Linked DNA regions of Homo sapiens: region 1 is linked to region 2. Evidence: promoter capture Hi-C in human tissues and cell types (Jung and others, 2019). All regions are on one chromosome and are shown on one strand. The core of a region is centred on a gene start or on the middle of the fragment in contact, and the rest is flanking DNA. Distances in the headings are between cores, read along the strand shown. Region 1 has its middle 33 kb from the start of SCGB1D1. Region 2 holds the start of SCGB2A1 (secretoglobin family 2A member 1).

What was found. Contacts are between HindIII fragments. The study calls those that stand out against the background at their distance.
Region 1: a contact is called between a fragment that was not itself captured here and the fragment with the promoter of SCGB2A1 in region 2, in 1 of the 25 tissues and cell types used here (stomach).

Annotation. Positions count from the first base shown.
Region 1 is chr11:62,155,187-62,160,086 of GRCh38, forward strand. No RefSeq gene overlaps it. Among named protein-coding and RNA genes, the nearest start is that of SCGB1D1, 33 kb to the right of the region's middle. The HindIII fragment of the contact is 4,857 bases long and covers 1,212-4,900 here.
Region 2 is chr11:62,205,594-62,210,194 of GRCh38, forward strand. It overlaps SCGB2A1 (secretoglobin family 2A member 1), which reads left to right and starts at 3,080. Exons shown (of 3, transcript NM_002407.3): 1 at 3,080-3,193. The coding sequence starts at 3,139. The HindIII fragment of the contact is 8,670 bases long and covers 1,413-4,601 here.

The DNA of each region.
Region 1 (4,900 bases), core at 2,390-4,889, 50 kb before region 2:
CTACATAGCTCTATGAAAGATGTGTTATCACAAAGAAAACGGTAGACATAGGTAGCTTTAGTGGTAAATGTTGCCACGTATTTAAGGGAATAATACTAATTCTGCACAACCTCTCACAAGAAATATAAGAGGAAAGAATACTCAGTTCTGTCTCTGAGGCCAGCATTGCTTTGATCCCCAAATCAGACATTGCAAGAAAAGAAGACAATTATCCCTCATGAACATCAACACAAGAATTCTTAGAGTTTTATCAAGTCCAACAAGTTAAATAAAAAGGATTACACTTTTTGTTGTTGTTGTTGTTGTTGTTGGAGGCAGGGTCTCACTCTGTTGCCCAGGCTGGAGTGCAGTGGTGGGATCTCGGCTTGCTGCAACCTCTGCCTCCTGGGTTTAAGAAACTCTTGTGCCTTGGCCTCCTGAGTAGCTGGGATTACGGGTATGCACCACCAGCCCAGCTAATTTTTGTATTTTCAGTAGAGATGGGGTTTTGCCATGTTGGCCAGGCTGGTCTCAAACTCCTGGCCTCGAGTGACCCACCTACCTTGTCCTCCCAAAGTGCTGAGATTACAGGTGTGAGCCACTATGCCCGGCCAGGATAATGCATCTTGACCAAACAGAGTTTATCTTAGGAATGCAAGGCAGGTTTAACATTTGGAAGTTAATGTAATTCACTATTAATTATAGAGGAGGAAAATCATATGATTAAATTAATAGATACAGAAATTCAATGATTTGATGATTCCATACTAGTAATTTAAGATAAAAGCTTTAAGATTTAAAGGGAATTTCCTCAGTTTGATAGGGCACTTCTACAAAACTCCAGCAAACACTTCCTAGTGAATGTCTAGATGCATTCCTCCTGCTACCAAGTCAAGTACAAGGATGCCCACTCTCATTCCTTCTGAACATTTTATGGTAGTTCTGGCCAGCACAGTAAGGCAAAAAGAAAAAGGCATTGGGAAAGAAGAATTAAAACCTGCCAGAGACAACTTGTAGAATATCTGATAGTATCTACCTAAAAGCTATTAGGATTAATATGGGCTTGGCATACAAGGTTAATATACAAAAATCTATTGTATTTCTATGTACTAGCCATGTGCAACCAGGAATTGAAATTTAAGGAATACAGTTTATAATGTCCAAAATTATCAAAATCTAAGGAATAAGTCTGACAAAAGATCAGGAAGACCTGTGCAATACAGTGAGAACTTCAAAAGGTTGCTGAGAGAAATCAATGAAGACTTAAGTGGGATATATACTGTGTTCATGGATCAGAAACTCAGTGTACTGAAGATGTCAGTTTCCCCCTAAAAGATTTAGCCCAGTCTTAACCAATTCCAAATGGCCTTTTATTTATTTATTTATTTTGGAGAGTGTCACTTTGTCGCCTAGGCTGGAGTGTAGTGGCATGATCTCTGCCTCCCGAGTTCAAGTGAGTCTTGTGCCTCAGCCTCCCAAGTAGCTGGGACTACAGGTGTGTGCCATCATGCCTGGCTAATTTTTGTATTTCTAGTAGAGATGGGGTTTGCTATGTTGGTCAGGCTGGTCTCACTCTAGTGATACACCTGTCTTGGCCTCCCAAATTGCTGGAATTACAGGCATGAGCCACTGCACCCAGCCCCAAATGGCTTTTTTTTTTTTTTTTTTTGGATAGAAGCTTATGAAAAAATTTGGTTTTACAATTTATATTTATGCTGGGTACAGTGGCTCACACCTATAATCCTAGGACATTGGGAGTCTGAGGTGGGCGGATGGCTTGAGCCCAGAAGTCTGAGACCAGCCTGGGCAACATCGTAAATCCCTGCCTCTACAAAAAATACAAAAATTAGCTGAGCACGTATCTGTAGTCCCAGCTACTCAGGAGACTGAGATGGGAGGATCACGTGAGCCTGGGAAGTCCAGACTGCAATAAGCAGTGATTGTGTCACTGCTCTCCGGCCTGGGTGACACAGCAAGACCCTGTCTCAAAAATTGTATTTAACAGCATAGGACCTACAATAGCTAAAACAACTTAAAAATAACAAATTTGGAGAGGTCACACTACCTGCAAGGCTCACTTCAAAGCTACAGGAGGAGATTGATTTGAGTAATAATAAAACTCCGATCTCCCGCACAGCTGGCTCTGCATGAATTACTCTTTCTTTATTTTGATTCCCCTGTCTTGATGAATAGGCTCTGTCTAGGCAGCGGGCAAGGTGAATCCCTTGGGCAGTTACAAATTTGGGGGCTCATCTGGGATTGCGCTTGTGGCTACATGCTTGTGGTTCGGTGGACCCCCTTCAGTGATGGATCCAGTGTCAGCCCAAGCGGCTGCCTAGTTCTCAAAGCTACAAGAATCAGGATAGTATATTGGTATAAAGGTAGTCATAGATACATGAAATTTTATGGAATCCAGAAATAGAACTACACATATATAATCACTTGGTTTTGGCAAAGGTGGAAAGGCAATTCAATGGGGGCAGCATAATTTTTTCAACAAATTGTCGTGGAACAACTGGATACGTTTTTAAAAAGCTCCAGCCCTTCTTAACACCATATATCAGGTTTAATTCCTAATGGATCATAGGCCTAAATGTAAGAGCTAAAAATACAACACTCCTAGAAGAAAACGGATTGCTGGGAAGATGGCCAAACAGGAACCTCTCTAGTCTGCAGCTCCCAGTGAGATTGAGGCATAAGGCAGGTGATCTCTGCATTTCCAACTGAGGTACCCAGTTCACCTCACTGGGACTGGTTGGACAGTGGGTGCAGCCCACAGAGGGCGAGCCAAAGCAGGGTGGGGCGTTGCCTCACCTGGGAAGTGCAAGGGGTCGGAATTCTCTCCCTACCCAAGGGAAGCCGTGAGGGACTGTGCCTGAGGAACAGTGCACTCCAGCCCAGATACTGCACTTTTCCCAATGTCTTTGTAACCTGCAGAACAGGAGATCCCCTCCAATCCTACGCCATCAGGGCCCTGGGTTTCAAGCACAAAACTGGGTGACCATTTGGGCAGACACTGAGCTAGCAGCAGGAATTTTTTTTTCCCATAACCCAGTGGTGCCTGGAACGCCAGTGAGACAGAACCATTACTGCCCTGGAAAGGGGCTGAAGCCAGGGAGCCAAGTGGTTTGGCTTGGTGGGTCCCAGCCACCACAGAGCATTGGTGAACATGAAAGTGACAGGGAGAATGGAACCAAGTTGGAAAACACTCTTCAGGATATTATCCAGGAGAACTTCCCCAACCTAGCAAGACAGGCCAACATTCAAATTCAAGAAATACAGAGAATACCACAAAGATACTCCTTGAGCAACCCCAAGACACATAATCGTCAGATTCACCAAGGTGGAAATGAAGGAAAAAATGTTAAGGGCAGCCAGAGAGAAAGGTCAGGTTACCCACAAAGGGAGGCCCATCAGACTAACAGTGGATCTCTCTGCAGAAACCCTACAGGCCAGAAGAGAGTGGGGGGCCAATATTCAACATTCTTAAAAGAATTTTCAACCCAGAATTTCATATCCAGCCAAACTAAGTTTCATAAGAGAAGGAGAAATAAAATCCTTTACAGACAAGCAAATGCAGAGAGATTTTGTCCCCACCAGGCCTGCTTTACAAGAGCTCCTGAAGGAAGCACTAAACACTGAAAGGTACAACTGGTACCAGCCACTGCAAAAACATACCAAATTGTAAAGACCATCAACACTATGAAGAAAATTCACAACTAACAGGCAAAATAACCAGCTAGCATCAAATTTGACAGGATCAAATTCACACATAACAATATTAACCTTAAATGTAAATGGGCTGAATGCCCCAATTAAAAGACACAGACTGGCAAATTGGATAAAGAGTCAAGATCCATCGGTGTGCTGTATTCAGGAGACCCATTTAACGTGCAAAGACACACATAGGCTCAAAATAAAGGGATGGAGGAATATTTACCAAGCAAATGCTAAGCAAAAAAAAGCAGGGGTTGCAATCTTAGTCTCTGATAAAACAGACTTTAAACCAACAAAGATCAAAAGAGACAAGGGCATTACATAGTGGTAAAGGGATCAATGCAACAAGAAGTGCTAACTACCCTAAATATAAATGCACCCAATACAGGAACACTCAGATTCATAAAGCAAGTTCTTAGAGACATACAGAGAGACTTAGACTCCCACACAATAAGAATGGGAGACTTTAGCACCCCACTGTCAATATTAGATAGATCAATGAGAAGAAAATTAACAAGGATATTCAGGACTTGAACTCAGCTCTGGACCAAGTGGACCTTATAGACATCTACAGAACTCTCCACCCCAAATCAACAGAATATACACTCTTCTCAGCACCTCATCACACTTATACTAAAACTGATCACATAATTGGAAGTAAAACACTCCTCAGCAAATGCAAAAGAATGGAAATCGTAACAGTCTCTCAGACCACAGTGCAATCAAATTAGAACTCAGATTAATAAAACTCACTAAAAACTGCACAACTACATGGAAACTGAACAACCTGCTCCTGAAAGACTACTGAGTAATGAAATGAAGGCAGAAATAAAGATGTTCTTTGAAACCAATGAGAATGACACAATGTACCAGAATCTCTGGGATACATTTAAAGCAGTGTGTAGAGGGAAATTTACAGAACTAAATGCCCACAAGAGAAAGCAGGAAAGATCTAATATCGACACTGAAACATCACAATTAAAAGAACTAGAGAAGCAAGAGCAAACAAATCAAAAGCTAGCAGAAGACAAGACATAACTAAGATCAGAGCAGAACTGAAGGAGATAGAGACACAAAAAACCCTTCGAAAAAAATCAATGAATCCGGAGTCGGTTTTGTGAAAAGATCAACAAAATAGATAGACGACTAGCCAGACTAATAAAGAAGAAAAGAGAGAAGAATCAAATACACGCAATAAAAAATG
Region 2 (4,601 bases), core at 1,830-4,329:
AACACTGAGCAACTCAGACTTGGAATCCCAGCATGAGGCTCGGGCGCGAGGGAGGCGCTGGGTCTAGACGAGGCCTTGGTGACTTGAACAACAGGCATATTGCTGCCAACAAAGATGGCTCCAAGACCAGAGGCCTTTCCTGAAGTTCTGTTCTGTGTAAGAAGGTGACTGACAAGGCAGGGCCACAAGGACTGGGGCACCAGGCAGAGCCCCAATAAGTACTGGCCAAGGAGACACTCTCACATTTCATAATCAAGGTCCTTCACTACCCTTGGGAAACAAGGCCACCAGCCAGGGTCAGCTGTGTACAGTGGTAAGTAAACAACACTTCTCCTTTCTGTCCTCCCCAAAATTAGGTTTGTTCTTGGCCACTGAGGCTCCACCTGAATGGTGGAAAGAAACATGTCGCAAGTAATCCAGAGAGAAAACAATGCATTCACAGGGAATTAACAATGGATTCATTCCTCTGGCTGTTTCATCGACTTCTTTTTTTTTCTTTTTTCTTTTTTTACCTGAGCCAACTTTGTTTTTCTTGTTCCTATGACCTTCACTGTGCCCCTAATTAAACAGGGATGGGCTTTCTATCATGTGAGGCTGTCCCGTCCTTTTCCTGATTCTATGTGGCCACGTTCCTTCCCTTCCTTACCTTGCCAGTGCCATCTGTCCTCAAGCTTCTGTACTTGCAGTTCCCTCTCCCTGGAATTCTCTTCCCCAGATGTGTCCTTGGACATCACCATCCACTCATCCAAGTCTCAGCTGAAACAGCACCTGCTCCTACAGGCTGCCTTGGGGGGCTTACAGGCCACTGCCCCTGGGCAGGCCATCTATGACAGCATTCAGCTGTTGTGAATATTTTGTTGTTCTTTGCAGCAATGACCACTTTCTCATACCTCTGATATATCTTTAGTCTTGTTCTTTGTGTCCTTCATTAGAAAATAAGGTCCACAGGAGCAAGCACCTGGTCTAACCTGTTTCTATAACTGAATCTAGTGCAAGGCCCAGCTCACAGGAGAAGCAAAACAGTGATGCGTACAACAAGGGATCCACGCATGAATGCAACTGCCATTTATTCAGAATTATCTCATGCTTGGCTGCGTGATTAAAAATTTACAGAGCGTCGGCCGGGAGCGGTGGCTCAAACCTATAATCCCAGCACTTTGGGAGGCCAAGGTGGGTGGATCACGAGGTCAGGAGTTTGAGACCAGCCTGGCCAACATGGTGAAACCCCCATCTCTACTAAAAATACAAAATAAATAAATAAATAAATAAATAAATAAATAAATAAATAAATAAAAATTAGCTGGGCGTGGTGGTGCACACCTGTAATCCCAGCTACTCAGGAGACTGAGGCAGGATAATCGCTTGAACCCGGGAAGGCTGAGGTTGCAGTGAGTTGAGATCACGCCACTGCACTCCAGCCTGGGCAATAAGAGTGAGACTCCATCTCAAAAAAAAAAATTTACAGAGTATCTCTCATCTTTACAAAAATTCACGGCCAGGCGGGCACGGTGGCTCACACCTGTAATCTCAGCACTTTGGGAGGCCGAGGTGGGTGGATCACCTGAGGTCAGGAGTTCGAGACCAGCCTGGCCAACATGGAGAAACTCCGTCTCTACTAAAAATACGAAAATTAGCCGGGCCTCGTGCCACATGCCTGTAATCCCAGCTACTCAGAAGGTTGAGGCAGGAGAATCGCTTGAACTCGGGAGGCGGAGGTTGCAGTGAGCCAAGATCGTGCCACTGAACTCCAGCCTGGGCAACAGGGCAAGACTCTGTCTCGAAAAAAAAAAAAATTCAGCATCACTTATACCCGTTTCACAAAGACAGAAAGGAAGCCCAGAGGGACCAGCATTGTAATTTGCCCAAAGACACAGCATGAGTACGTGTGGCCTCCAGGATCCACACCCACACCTGCCCAAATCTTATCACCTAAATCTCATCATCACCCAACCCCATTGCCACCCACTGCCTAGCACTGCCTGCCCAAGCAGTCAGTTACTCCACTCACTCACAGCATCCTCTCAGTCAGTGGATAGAAAACCGTAAAAGGCTAACAAAGAACTAAGCACAAATTAAATTATAAATATATTGTAAAATAAATTTGTAAAGTTGAATTAACTTAGTGTTGTAATTCTTAACAAGAATAACAAGAAGCTTTCAGTAGAGGTTAGATATTAATGTTTTCCCCAAAACTTAAAGCACTTTTCGGGGCTGGGCATGGTGGCTCACGCCTGTAATCCCAGCACTTTGGGAGGCTGAGTGAGGTGGATCTCCTGAGGTCAGAAGTTCGAGACCAGCCTGGCCAAAATGGTGAAACCCTGTCTCTACTAAAAATACAAAAATTAGCCAGGTGTCCTGGCGCATGCCTGTAATCCCAGCTACCCAGGAGGCTGAGGCAGGAGAATTTCTGGAACCCGGGAGGCGGAGGCTGCAGTGAGCCAAGATCGCACCACTGCACTCCAGCCTGGGCAATAGAGTGAGACTCTGTCTCAAAACAACAACAACAACAGCAACAAAACCCCAAAAAACAAAAACAAAAAAACCCGCTTTTCTGAAAAAGAAATGTCTATGGATTAGGAAGGTCTGCCTCCCATAGGAAGATGCAGGTATTGCACATAGCCCAAATATTTGATGATTCCAGGACCGGCAGATACACAAGTTATGAAACTGTTTGTACCTTGAAGAATAACGAGAAGAGGAGGAGACCAAGAGGAATAGAAGAAAAAGAATAGAAGGAGGAGGAGGAAGAAGGGAAGGAGGACTAGAAGAAAACTACAATAATAACAACATTGTTGAGACCACAAGATCACGCCACTGGGTTTTGCTTTATATTTTGGAAAACACTGTCACATCCATTTTACTAAAAGCCATGTATCATTATTGTAGTCCCCAGATTGTCAGGGATCCAAATATTACTGCCTTCTTGGTTTCTACAAACAGAGCACAGGCTGGCTGTGTTCCCATTGGTGTACACTATTGTGTCCTGGTCCCATGCCAGGTTGACACATTGCCTCATTCCTGGGAGGGACTAAGGTGCCTCCCTGGGGAATAAATAGAGCAGGGCTGGGTACTCACCTCCACAGCAACTTCCTTGATCCCTGCCACGCACGACTGAACACAGACAGCAGCCGCCTCGCCATGAAGCTGCTGATGGTCCTCATGCTGGCGGCCCTCCTCCTGCACTGCTATGCAGGTGAGTTCTGGGCAGAGAGGGCTGCTTCTGGGCTAGGAATTGTCACCTGGGCCCCTGTAGAAGAACTCCCAACCTCTAATCCCCAGCACAGACGAGCCCCAGTGTGAAGGGCCTGGGTGCGATAGGCCTTAGGATCCCCATGAGTTCCTGACAATCAAGCATGCAGTGTCCTCATGGGCTGTCCCCTGCATTGGAGCTGCACACAGTGTATCATGGCACTCAGCGTCTCACCATGGTCACGGTGACCATAGAAACCAGGATGAGTCTCAGGATTAAATATTGAAATGAACTATTTCAGTGGGGCAAGGGAGAGATGGCATCTACACCTAGAAATCAGGAAATAATCATGGGTCTCCTTGAATATGGAACGAAATAGGAAACCTCCCAGGACAGAAGGCCCAGGCTGCAGAGTGTGACCCAGTGTCTCTCACCCTGTGTGGCTCACTCTGTGTTCTCAGAGTTGATCTGGGTCCTTCTGGGATGCCCTTACCCTCCCAGTTGCTTCAGGCTCAAGGCAGACAGGTGAGAACTCACAACCCCTGGAGTCTCCTTCCAGCACTAAAGATTCAGTGGGAGGAAAAAGCCCCGGCTGCTGGAATCAGCGCTAATATTTCCATAGGTAGCCTGCCTTGTGCAGTTCACAAAGGTGGATTCCAAACCCTACCGTATTGGCATCCAAGGTAGGTGCAGATGTGTAGAAGGGTGACAAGCTCACAGTCAACTAACTGGAAAATCACAAAGTCCAGAGCACAACCAGCTCACATGAAGCCACGTCCTGAGCTCGTTCCTCTCCCTTACAGTGGGAGGTGACCTCAGATCCCCTCATGAACAAGCTCTATTTCACATTCATGTGTGTGTGTGTGTGTGTGTGTGTGTGTGTGTGTGTGTGTGTTTGAGACAGGGTCTTGCTCTGTCACCCAGGCTGGGACTGGGACTGGTGTGCAATGGCACAGTCTCAGCTCACTGCAACCTCTTCCTCGAAGGCTCAAGTAATGCTCCTGCCTCAGCCTCCCGAGTAGCTGGGACTACAGGTGGACACCACTATGCCTGGCTAATTTTTAAATTTTTTGTAGAGATGAGGTCTCCCTGTGTTGTCCAGGCTGGTCTTAAACTCCTGAGCTCAAGCAATTCGCCTGCCTTGGCCTCCCTAAGTGCTGGGATTACAGGCGTGAGCCACCATACCTGGCCACACATTCCCTTTTATTGCAGTAGAGTCAACAGAACTAATGGACAATGTCCTAGACCCATTCATCTGAAATCCTTGGAAACCCTACCTGATGCTGGGCATGATAACAGGGAAGCATTGCATGACTTTGAACCAAGAAAGTCCAAGTAGTGTTTGCTATGTCCCCCCAGTCAGAACACCTCATTTCTCGAGGGTCCTCTTCACCAAGAATACACAGGGTTG